4 separate regions of the Homo sapiens genome follow, and all the other regions are linked to region 3. Evidence: promoter capture Hi-C in 16 types of primary human blood cells and fetal thymus (Javierre and others, 2016). All regions are on one chromosome and are shown on one strand. The core of a region is centred on a gene start or on the middle of the fragment in contact, and the rest is flanking DNA. Distances in the headings are between cores, read along the strand shown.

Region 1 (2,930 bases), core at 204-2,703, about 44 Mb after region 3:
TGTCCAGTTTCCGACTGGTGTCACCTTGTTATTGATCTTCGTAGCCAAGGATAACGGTTTAAAAACAATTATGTAATTCTCATTTTTTTTTAAATTTTAAAAACCTTTGCCTTCCTTTACCTCCTTGAATACGCACGTAGTTTACTAAGTCATGAGTATTTTCACACTTTATTCCCAAATAAATATATAAGAATCATAGAATGATAGAATTGAAAAGGATAAAATCACACAGTTGTTTCTAACTCCCACCCCTTAGAATGCGGCAAATGAAAAAAATTTTTTTTTTTGAGACAGGGTCTCTGTCTCACAGGCTGGAGTGTAGGGATCTCCGCTCCCTACAGCCTCAACCTCCCCAGCTCAAGCAATCCTCCCATGTCAGCCTCCCGAGTAGCTGGGACTACAGGCCTGCTGCCACCATGCCCAGCTAATTTTTTGTACTTTTTGTAGAGACGGGGTTTCGCTATCTTGCCCAGGCTGGTCTCTAACCTCAGGTTCAGCCTGATCCTCACCTCCAGGCTCAGGTGATCCGACCCCCTAGGCCTCCCAAGGTGCTGCGATGACAGGCATGAGCCACCGCGCCCGCCTATAATCAATTTTCAATATTCTAAAAAAGCCTACCAGAAATTGTATATTTTCTGGTGGTATTAAATGCTAGGTTTCCTTGTTTTGTGCTAGAATTATATCAGATCCACAATAAACCTAGGTTCCGACTGAGCTGGGTCTGATTGAGCAAAATCTGTTTTCCCATTATTGTTATGTTCAATTTGGCAAACAGCTTTTCAAAATATAGGAGTGAAGTCGTGGTCGAACTAATAAAATTGGTAACACTTGCTACAATGTTTGCAATTCGCAGAAAACTTCACTGACTTCATCTTAACTTATTCCTCACAAAGCTGTGGAATCACCATCAGTAGAGCAGGAGTCGTTGGCTCAATGCAGTGCTGTCTGCAACCGCTCGGAGCTTCTAGGTTCTTTCCGTGGGTCTCCAGCTTATGAGCACCTACATTCCGCGATTCGGAAGCACCTGCCTACCCCTCAGAAGAGAGAGACAGCTCCTTCTTCCCGTTCCGGAATGTGGTGCGTTCGCACGCATGCGTGACACGGCTACTCCGCGCTTGCGCCGATATTCTCCGCTTGGGGCGGATACCCTGGGTGACCCGTGAGCGTCCGCGCCCGGCGCGCGCCTGCGCAGTCGCTTTTCGAGAGTTTCCGCCCGCTACGTTCCCGTCTTTCAAACCACCCCACCACCTATACCATTCATTCCAGTCTCCTCAATTCTTTCACTGTATTAAGACGGCCTGCCCTCTGGCACGTTTTCTGGAACGAAAGCGGCTTGGGACAGACAGACTCCCTTCGCCAGGGAGCCCCGACCCCGAGGGCGCGCCCTGAGCGTCTGAGCGCAGCCCCGCTGCGTCCCCAGTTGTATCCCCCGCCACGCCCGCCTCTTCCGCCGCTCGCGCGCGCGCGCACGGCCGGCCACGGCGCGCCGGGGTTGGCTGCTACAGGGACCGCGGTGGCGGCGGCGGCCTCGACAGCGGTAGTGCCTTCTACTCCGCTTTTTTAGTTTCCTCCGCCCCCTCCCGTGGGACGCTGTTGTGTGGCTGCCTTAAAAAAAAACGCAACTTTATTGTTCCTCAGCCCCACCTCCGGCTCGGCGGGCGTCCTCAGGATGCACTGAGGCTGAGGGGAGGGGAGGCGGCGGAGGGTCGAGGTCGCGGTCCCTCTCCTCCGAGCGCCCGGCTGGAGGGGAGGGAGTCACGATGTCTGGTAGCCGCCAGGCCGGGTCGGGCTCCGCTGGGACAAGCCCCGGGTCCTCGGCGGCCTCCTCGGTGACTTCCGCCTCCTCGTCTTTATCCTCTTCCCCGTCGCCGCCTTCCGTGGCGGTTTCGGCGGCAGCGCTGGTGTCCGGCGGGGTGGCCCAGGCCGCCGGCTCGGGCGGCCTCGGGGGCCCGGTGCGGCCTGTGTTGGTGGCGCCCGCCGTATCGGGTAGCGGCGGCGGGGCGGTGTCCACGGGCCTGTCCCGGCACAGCTGCGCGGCCAGGCCCAGCGCCGGCGTAGGAGGCAGCAGCTCCAGCCTAGGCAGCGGCAGCAGGAAGCGACCTCTCCTCGCCCCCCTCTGCAACGGGCTCATCAACTCCTACGAGGACAAAAGCAACGACTTCGTATGGTGGGTTTGAAGAGCACTCCCTCCTTGTCCCTAAATTATGAGTTTCTGCCGCTTAGGCTTGGGGGCGGGGGGTCTGGTGTGGGGGTGGCTTGTTGGAGAGCTTGGGATACTGGTGCTGTGGTGGTGTCTGCAGAGGGAATCGAGCGTTTGCAGGCATTCGAGCTCCTGGTTGGTGGGGTGAAGGAATGTTGGAGTAGCGAGGCAGGGTGGGGATAATAAAGAGGTAGGTAAGTGTTGCTGAGGAGGAAGTGAAGGGAGTTTAACGAATGACGAGGGAAGAGGTGGAAGGTCAAATAAATGGTTTTGGATAACAAAGTTGGCAGAGAGGTTGAGTCTTAAAATTTTTGCCTCTCTGATGAATTGAACACTCAGTCAATCAGGAGTCCTTGTTGAGATGAATGAAATTTGCAAATGGAGAGGACTAAGCTTCCTCGGATGCAGAGGGGTGGAGTTGGTCAAAATTTATTTGAAGTATGGTAGATGATGCTGTAAACATAAGCATGGATGTCTTATAAAGACATGCTTTTTATAATAATGTAAGTACCTATCGTATGTATGTGTAAATATCTTCTTCCATTTCAAAGGATGGGCCACTTAGGAATCGGCTGTTGAGACGACTGTAGTCAAAGTCTGTTAACAGATTTTTCACTTCTCCACCAAGTGTCTTGAAAAGAGAGAACCACGTTTGTTAAATAACATCCCTGTGTCAGATGTAACTGTACTATACTGGATAACAGAGTATACTGGAACTTCTGACTTGAGA
Region 2 (2,793 bases), core at 87-2,586, about 34 Mb after region 3:
AAACTGATGAACTTCTGGCTCTTGGAAGAGAAAAAGGGAATGAGATTCTAGAGCTTAAATGTAATCTTGAAAATAAAAAAGAAGAGGTAAGTTAGTAAAATTGTGTTTTTCTTCATGTTGAGTATAACTTACATTTGTATGTCAGTTTATTAAATATGTATTCAGTAGTGTGTACCTGATTAGTTGTAAGATGAGTGGTTAAATGTGAATAATGCATTACATTTGGCGTAAAAAATCAACCAATTGCGTTTACATAAAGAATTTAAGATTCTTTGTCAAATCTGGTTAGTATCTACTGTCTTACGATATATCTTTCCTAAAATATGTGTTTGTTTAAGAAGTGGTGGTAAGTTTTTGTGAGCTAAATCTAAACATTGTTCTGTGAGCAGTTACTCTTAGTTTTCTTAAATATGCATATTTTAATTGCTTTTTCAGGTGGGGAGGGGGAGTTACTTAGCTTTTCCTTAGCAGCATAAACCTCATGTCAGAGTAATTTCAGTTAATATGACATCCTTTCCCCCTGCTCTATTTTTTGTTTTTAGGTTTCTAGACTGGAAGAACAAATGAATGGCTTAAAAACATCAAATGAACATCTTCAAAAGCATGTGGAGGATCTGTTGACCAAATTAAAAGAGGTATATATGACCATTAAAATGTCTTTTTTACAAAATACTAAAGCACTTACGAAGCTGTTATTTCACAAAATGATGTCATTTTTTAATCTGTCCTTGGCCCCATAAAACAGTGAGAGTCCTCCTTCCATATGCTGTAGCTAGGCTAAAATAGAATCAGAAATAGCAATTATATGTTATATTGAAAATACTATCTAAAAAATGAGTATGGGTTAATTTTATTGTTTAATTATTTTACTTTGAATTTAAAATATTAGTAATATTTTATCCTTAATTTATCTTTGTCATGAAGACTGATTTGAATTTGAGTGTTTTAGATTTAGCTCTTACTTTACAAAAATGGAATTTTTCATCTTGTCATTTGATAAGCATTCTAAATTTAGTTCAAAGTAGACTGCTATAATTGGGCTATTTTTTTCAGGCCAAGGAACAACAGGCCAGTATGGAAGAGAAATTCCACAATGAATTAAATGCCCACATAAAACTTTCTAATTTGTACAAGGTAAATATCCCACCACACATGTTAGTATCTAAATGTTGCATTGTTGACTGTTAGGTAACTTTTTAAGATTAACTTTTAGAGTGCCGCTGATGACTCAGAAGCAAAGAGCAATGAACTAACCCGGGCAGTAGAGGAACTACACAAACTTTTGAAAGAAGCTGGTGAAGGTAAGTGTTTTCAGTTATGGGAACATTATTTTTGTTATTGTACTCTTTTTTTTTTTTTACCCTTGTTTTGTATAGATGATTGGATTTAGGTGTTAGACTTTATTTGGGACAGAATTAGGTACAGAAGAAAGAACTTTGGATTAGGAAATTCAGAATTATATCTTAAGCAAATGTAAGTTTATATATTTTTGAAAATACAGACAGCAGGGGGTTTTGTTTGTTTTTTATCTAATAATCTTGTATAATTTGCTGATTTCTAATGAGAAAGTTTTCTTTTTTGAAACATTTACTCTGATAATGTTTGAATACTCTTACTTTATAAATAAGACATCCTCTTTATTTGCATTTTGTAAAGTCTTTTATTTCCTCAAATTTTTGCTTTTTTCAATGTATTATATTTATGGTCTTTTCCAATAATTTCCTTTACTTAGGATTAAAGATCAAAATCGAAATCAAAGATATACCTAGAACCACTTTTTACCCTTTGGGTTTCCTTATTTTCTTTGTGGGTAAGAGACATCAAAAGGAGAAACACCAGGCGAAGACAATTCCAAAATTATAAGTAGAGCAAGAACTTTCAATAGATACTGTCAGCTGAAGCCTCTCTAGAAATTTAATATTATCTGCTGAGGGGAGAAGTGACTGATCTGTTGCATTTTGTAAACTAAAATTTTAACTGTATGTTTGAATATTTGGTCTTTAAAATTGTTTTTTAGCCAACAAAGCAATACAAGATCATCTTCTAGAGGTGGAGCAATCCAAAGATCAAATGGAAAAAGAAATGCTTGAGAAAATAGGGAGATTGGAGAAGGAATTAGAGAATGCAAATGACCTTCTTTCTGCCACAAAACGTAAAGGTATGGCTAATAGATGCTTGTTAGTGAGTTGAAATACTACAGCTTTCCTACATAAAAGTCATTTAATTTCACTAATAGTATTTATCTGTCATGCTGTGATGTAGGAAACTCCATCGAGTTATATTAATAGAATTTGTTTTAAAATTAATACTCTTACCTGTATCTTTACAGAATCGGGCATATAAATACCATTTGATCACACACAGTCTTGTAAATTCCCAGGTTATTGCATGATTTTTTAGAATTAGATGTGTTACATGACTTTTTGATGTCATGTATTTAAAATTTTTATAGGAATTACTATATAATGTACAGTACATGTCACTTACCTTGAAAAATTATTAATGGCTTTTAGTTTGGAATTTTACAAATTATACTAGATGTGTATTTGTTGGCACAGGAGCCATATTGTCTGAAGAAGAGCTTGCCGCCATGTCTCCTACTGCAGCAGCTGTAGCTAAGATAGTGAAACCTGGGATGAAACTAACTGAGGTAAGAATGGTATTAAATGTTGTTAAATTCTTTTTCTTCAGCAAATGTATACAAATCTCTTCAAAATTTAATTCTCCCAAAACTTATTTTTAAAATCATCTTATAATTAGTGGATCATTCTAGGAAAGGCTTTCTTTGGTTCC
Region 3 (2,720 bases), core at 218-2,717:
AGCCCTTGAAATATGGGTGCAGCTCACACACACGAATGTGTGTATACACCTTGGAGTATCTCTGGAGCTCATGCATGCACGTCCGTCACAAAGGATTTGAAAGGGAGAATCAGATGAGACGCTGAAAAAAACACCTGTGGACTCCATGATTGGGGGCGGCATCGGAGGGTTTTTTTGTTTTGTTTTTTAGATCAGGTCTCTCCCTGTGTCGGCCAGGCTGGAGGGTAGTGGCTACTCACAGGCAAGTCCACGGCGAGGCCACTACAGCCTCATCTTCCTGGGCTCAGGCGATCCTGCCTCAGCCTTCTTAATAGCTGAGACTACAGGAGCGCGCCACTGCGCCTATCTGCAGTGATTTTTTGTTTGTTTTGAAACGGGGTCTCAGTCTGTCGCCCAGGCTGGAGTGCAGTGCCGCGATCTCGGCTCACCGCAACCTCCTCCTCCCGGGTTCAAGCGATTCTCCTGCCTCAGCTCCCCAAGTAGCTAGGATTAAAGGTGCGCGCTACCATTCCCGGCTAATTTTTGTACTTTTAGTAGAGACCCCCGTCTCTACAGTTTCACCATGTTGGTGAAGCTGGTCTCCAACTCCTGACCTCGAGATCCGCTCGCCTCCGGCCTCCCAAAGTGCTGGGATTACAGGCCTGAGCCACCGCGCCCGGCCTCTGCTGTGATTTTTTTTTTTTTTCTTTTCGAGAAGGAGTCTCACTCTGTCGCCCAGGCTGGATGCAGTAGCACGATCTCGGCTCACTGCAACCTCCACCTCCCAGGTTCAAGCGATTCTCCTGCCTCAGCCTCCCAAGTAGCTGGGATTACAGGGGCCCACCACCATGCCAGGCTAATTTTTGTATTTTTAGTAGAGATGGGGTTTCACCATGCTGGCCAGACTGGTCTCGAACTCCTGACCTCAGGTGATCCGCCCGCCTACACCTTCTAAAGTGCTGAGATTACAGGCGTGAGCCACCACGCCCGGCCTGCAGTGATTTTTAAAGAGTCTTTTATATTTCCTTTAACCATTATTTTCAACACGCAAATAACTCTTGAAAATACGTTCTTGTTTTGGAAAAAAAAAAACGGGGGGGAATGTATAAAATAAACAACGAGAAAAACTTCTCCCATTCCCAACGTAATCATGGCTATCGTGTGTATGCTTCCAGGACTTTTCTTTTTACATAAAGACAGTGCATGCTTTTGTTTCGTGCTTCACATAAACGCCTATCCCATCTTAAAGATGGTTTTACAACCTGCTGTTTTACGACCTGCTGACTTGACGAAGTGTCGTAAAGTCCCGTCCACTTCAGCGTCTTTCCCACCGCAGCACGAAAGGCCACGCAGGCCGTTCTAACCCTGGCGGCCAAGAGGAGGGGTAGCAGGCTCTGGAACCTGCGGGCGGGGACGAAGACGGCGCGCGACGATGTCGCACCGCGGCGTGCGCGGTGTCGGCAGTAGCTGCGGCGCAGGGGCGGAGCGAAGGCTGCGGCGGCGTCGGGTACGCGCACACGTTGCATCTTCTTCCTTTCGCGGGGTCCTCCGTAGTTCTGGCACGAGCCAGGCGTACTGACAGGTGGACCAGCGGACTGGTGGAGATGGCGACGCTCTCTCTGACCGTGAATTCAGGAGACCCTCCGCTAGGTAAGGGGCCGAGACCAATGACCTGTGTGGGTTGCATCAGCCAGGGAGGGTGCAGGGCGTGGAAGGTCGCTGCGCCCCGGCTTTGCGCAGTGGTGGTCACCATCTGGGATGTTGGACCTGCCCCTCGCCCCAGAATTGTACGTGGAGGAGGCTCCGCACCCCTCGCCCCGTGTCCCCGGCAGGTGCATCTGCTCCTGAAGATGGTTTTCCCGGGCATGGAGGGAGGCGCAGTGTGAGCCCGGGCTAGACAACACGAGACTCCGCTTCGGATCTTTTTCTCAGAGGGATGAACTCCCAGTCAACTCACCTCTCCCTTTTTCCCCCGGAGAGCGAGAGTTGCTCGTGGAAATAAGATTTTAAAACTTAAAATCCAATAGTCGTCGCTTCTCTTTTAGCATTTTTCCCCCAACTCCTTTTCTTACCTCCTTTCCTGTCCTGTCCCTCCTCTCAGGAGAAATCCTCAGTTCACTTGAGTCAAATTTTCCTTACGTTTTATCGAGTTCAGAAGAAATAACCCAGACGAGCATATTAGCATTTAGGATTTCAACTGAGGCTGCATTTATTTTTAATTAAATGTGGTAGGGTAATTGGGGAAAACACCCAGGTACACTGTAGACTGATGCGGTTGCTTTTACTGCACCCTGTGGATGTGTAGTAAATTTCAGAGTAAACATTGGATCTGTCACCTTACTGACACATCTTAAGTTCTGTTTGGAATTATTTTTTCGACATGACCAAGATTATTGTTGGTAGATTGCTTAGAATTTCTGCTTTTTCATTACTTTGGGAAATTACACAGAAGAATTTAAGTAGTTTGCCGATTTTTTTTTTTCTTTTGAGAGTCAGGGTCTTGCTCTATCGTCCAGGCTGGAGTGCAGTGGCGCTTTCAAGGCTCACTGCAGCATCGAACTTCCGGGCTCAGATGATCCTCCCACCTCAGCCTCCTTAGTAGCTGGGACTACAGGCGCGTGCCACCATGCCTGGCTAATTTTGTGTTTGTGTCTTTTTTGGAAAGATGGCGTTTCACTGTGTTGCCCAGGCAGGTCTCAAACTCCTGGGCTCAAGCCATCCTGACTTGGCCTCCCAAAGTA
Region 4 (3,111 bases), core at 372-2,871, about 35 Mb after region 3:
TTATCCTTCATGGAATAAGCTTTTTGGTTTTGTTTTTAAAATTTTGCAACAGGGTATTTTGTTAATGTTATGTTTTCATTAAAAAATGAAGTAGAAAACAATCCAGTTTCTATAGCACGTGGGCAGGAGACGTAACTTTAGAAAAAGCCGACTTGGCCTGGCATGGTGGCTCATGCCTGTAATCCCAGCACTTTGGGAGGCTGAGGCGGGCGAATCACCTGAGGTCGGGAGTTCGAGACCAGCCTGACCAACATGGAGAAACCCCTTCTCTACTAAAAACACAAAATTAGCCAGGTGTGGTGGCGCATGCCCTTAATCCCAGCTACTCGGGAGGCTGAGGCAGGAAGAATCGCTTGAACCTGGAGGCGAAGGTTGCAGCGAGCAGAGATCGTGCCATTGCACTCCAGCCCGGGCAACAAGAGCAAAACTCTGTCTCAAAAAAAGAGAAAAAGCCGACTTACAGAAATTACTGAAGAGTGGTGTAATTTTTGAACTGGGTCTGATTTCCAATACATTTTAATCCAGTTTTTGAATAGATAAAACATTATGGAAATTTTTTTTTCTGTTCAGTATAGTAATTATTATACCATTCTGTATTTAAATGTGACTTTGTTAGGCTTCTATGTGTAAGAGCAATGATATTAAATAGCTCCACTTTGAAATATGTGTTCTAAAATTTGCTCATCATATGCTGCATAAATGTAAGGATTGGAAAATAGTGTATTCTCCTTGTATGCAATCATGATTTACTTACAGTCTTGAAAATTGAATGCTTGTAAAGTTGAGTTAGCAAGTTAAAGCTTATGTCATTTGTAATATACATGTCTAGGCACTACCATTGCCAATTATAGGAATTTCTACTTCTTGGTAATAATCTCGTATTCCATTTCAGGGAAGGAAAAAAAAGAGGACTTCCATCTTCCATTCATTGATATGAGTTCCTGAAAGGGACATTTTAAACTTTTTTTTTTCTGCTTAGGACAGGATAAGAGTCTAGAGCTGTAAACCACAAATATAAAAATTATATATATATAAACATATATATATATGTAAACTTACAAAGAATTAGTGCTTTAGCAAAGTGGTGGTAAGGTCTTTTTTTAAATAATGAAATGTTTTTAAGTGGTTATTATTCATATGTTGTCAGGACTTAATTCGTTCACAAGTTTGAGTGTACTTGATTTTGTTGGTGTTCATAGTCAGGATCTGGAACTGAGGTCTTTTCTGTTTGCTAGCTCTATTATTACCAGTATTTCATAATCTGTGATTATAGTTTTAAAAATGACAATTGCAGTATAACAGGAGGCAAATAAAAATATAGTCAGCAATTTCTTTAACACTTTTTTCAATTCTTGCCATCAGTGATTGGAACTTTGGTAAAAGAAAAGTTAATAGGCCGGGCGTGGTAACTCACACCTGTAATCCCAGCACTTTGGGAGGCTGAGGCGGGTGGATCACATGAGGTCAGGAGTTCGAGACCAGCCTGGCCAACGTGGTAAAACCCTGTCTCTACTGAAAATGCAAAAATTAGCCAGGCATGGTGGCAGACGCCTGTAATCCCAGCTACTCGGGAGGCTGAGGCAGGAGAATCGCTTGAACCTGGGAGGTGAAGGTTGCAGTGAGCTGAGATCGTGCCACTGCACTCTAGCCTAGGTGTGACAGAGTGAGACCCTGTCTCAAAAAAAAAAGAAAAAGTTAATAAAAAATTGTTAAGCTGTGTTTTCCTTTGCTAATTATTTGGCCTTGTCTGGTCATACAATTAACTTGTACTTTTTCCTGTAGTCCTCAAGTCCCTGAACTTGAGAGTGCTTAATTGAAAGGCTGCTTCCTCAGTCGCAACCTTACAGGTTTTGATTTAGTAAAATTCTGGTGTAGTGATCAGACATCTCCATTTTAAACAGTGGTTACGGAGATTTTGTGAAACAGAATTCGCCAAAACACACAACTCTCTTTTTGAGCATTAGTTTTCTCATTTTGGAAGTGAATACTATTTATTTGATTTTTGACAGTTTTTTTAGAGTAGAGCACATCATAAAAAGTATCTTTTGAAAATATGACAAACATTAATAAATATGTACTTAAACTAGGCATTAGTGGTTTATTCAATGTAAGTGCAAAGGCAGAGGCTTCATAAAGCGTTGTTATTTCATGTCACTACACACCTGTGTACCTCTCTCTTAGTAGAACATATAGGGGAAGCAATAAATGGCAATAATAATGGTTTTTTTAAAGGGCTGTCCAGCAAAACCCCCGCTTCAAGACAGATACGTTAAATAATTGTGTTAAGAGGTCATTGTTTTTCTGCATCAGATTTCCTTCTCTGATGATGGCATCTATCATTCATCAGTTTTCTTAGGAAAAATTATAAGATGAATTGTACATAAATTACTAGTAATCATTAAAGTTTGGCTCAGCTCTGTGTGGTGAGTTCATGAAAGCTTGTCTGCTAGCTGTTGTAGTTTCTGATTCTGTTTATGTCCCTTTCTACCTAAATTTTTCTTTTGTTTTTATTGGTATATTTTTTATGAGGAAGAATTAACTTTTTGAAAGATAATAAATAGAATATACTTACCTTTTTTTTTTTTTTTTTCCATTTCTGCTCTTTTAAAATTAGGAATCAAGTACTGGAAATGTTTGATCATGCTTATGGTAACTATATGGTAAGTAGGAAGCTTATCTTTACCTACCATTTATGTGAGTTGATTATTATGTGAGCACAGTCAACTGGGAATTTTGAAACCTACAATACAATTACATTTTTTAAAAGGAAGTTTTTAAAAAACAGGGCAAAAATAGTCTTTCTGGTAGTGGTTTTTAGGGAACCAGTTTATTGAACAGATAAGAATAAATTGAAATTAGATTATGAAACTTCATTATTTAAACAGCTTCCTTGGGTGCCATCAACAATTATCATTGAGTGCTTTATATAGCTAGATATTGTGGATATATACATGAAGATGTTATCTCTGGTCTTAAGGGAGATTATTCTCTTAATTTAAAAAAATGTTTACAATATTTATACACTGAAGAAAACCATTGCTTAAAAGAGAAATTGTTACTTAGCCTCTGTCCTAATTGTATCCTCATGGACTCTGCACTGAATATATTTTG

Evidence for each region. Contacts are between HindIII fragments. The CHiCAGO score rates a contact against its expected background, and 5 or more counts as called.
Region 1: a contact is called between the fragment with the promoter of COP1 here and the fragment with the promoter of EPRS1 in region 3, in 1 of 17 cell types (total CD4 T cells). The highest score is 7.7, in total CD4 T cells.
Region 2: a fragment that was not itself captured here is called in contact with the fragment with the promoter of EPRS1 in region 3 in 1 of 17 cell types (total CD8 T cells); the score reaches 8.2 in total CD8 T cells.
Region 4: a fragment that was not itself captured here is called in contact with the fragment with the promoter of EPRS1 in region 3 in 1 of 17 cell types (total B cells); the score reaches 5.1 in total B cells.

What each region holds. Positions count from the first base shown.
Region 1 is chr1:176,205,809-176,208,738 of GRCh38, reverse strand. COP1 (COP1 E3 ubiquitin ligase) reads left to right here and starts at 1,453. Exons shown (of 20, transcript NM_022457.7): 1 at 1,453-2,167. The coding sequence starts at 1,761. It overlaps COP1-DT (COP1 divergent transcript), which reads right to left and starts at 1,074. Exons shown (of 5, transcript NR_185981.1): 1 at 868-1,074. RefSeq lists an enhancer at 846-915 and silencers at 1,416-1,625, 1,656-2,015. The HindIII fragment of the contact is 7,879 bases long and covers 1-2,595 here.
Region 2 is chr1:186,360,130-186,362,922 of GRCh38, reverse strand. It overlaps TPR (translocated promoter region, nuclear basket protein), which reads left to right. Exons shown (of 51, transcript NM_003292.3): 6 at 1-86; 7 at 543-635; 8 at 1,054-1,134; 9 at 1,214-1,301; 10 at 2,018-2,158; 11 at 2,559-2,650. Among named protein-coding and RNA genes, the nearest start is that of TPR, 14 kb to the left of the region's middle. The HindIII fragment of the contact is 3,545 bases long and covers 1-2,793 here.
Region 3 is chr1:220,045,252-220,047,971 of GRCh38, reverse strand. It overlaps EPRS1 (glutamyl-prolyl-tRNA synthetase 1), which reads left to right and starts at 1,467. Exons shown (of 32, transcript NM_004446.3): 1 at 1,467-1,629. The coding sequence starts at 1,584. RefSeq lists enhancers at 1,256-1,325, 1,386-1,715, 1,757-2,314. The HindIII fragment of the contact is 10,455 bases long and covers 1-2,720 here.
Region 4 is chr1:184,749,096-184,752,206 of GRCh38, reverse strand. It overlaps EDEM3 (ER degradation enhancing alpha-mannosidase like protein 3), which reads left to right. Exons shown (of 20, transcript NM_025191.4): 2 at 2,615-2,660. Among named protein-coding and RNA genes, the nearest start is that of EDEM3, 4.2 kb to the left of the region's middle. The HindIII fragment of the contact is 1,638 bases long and covers 803-2,440 here.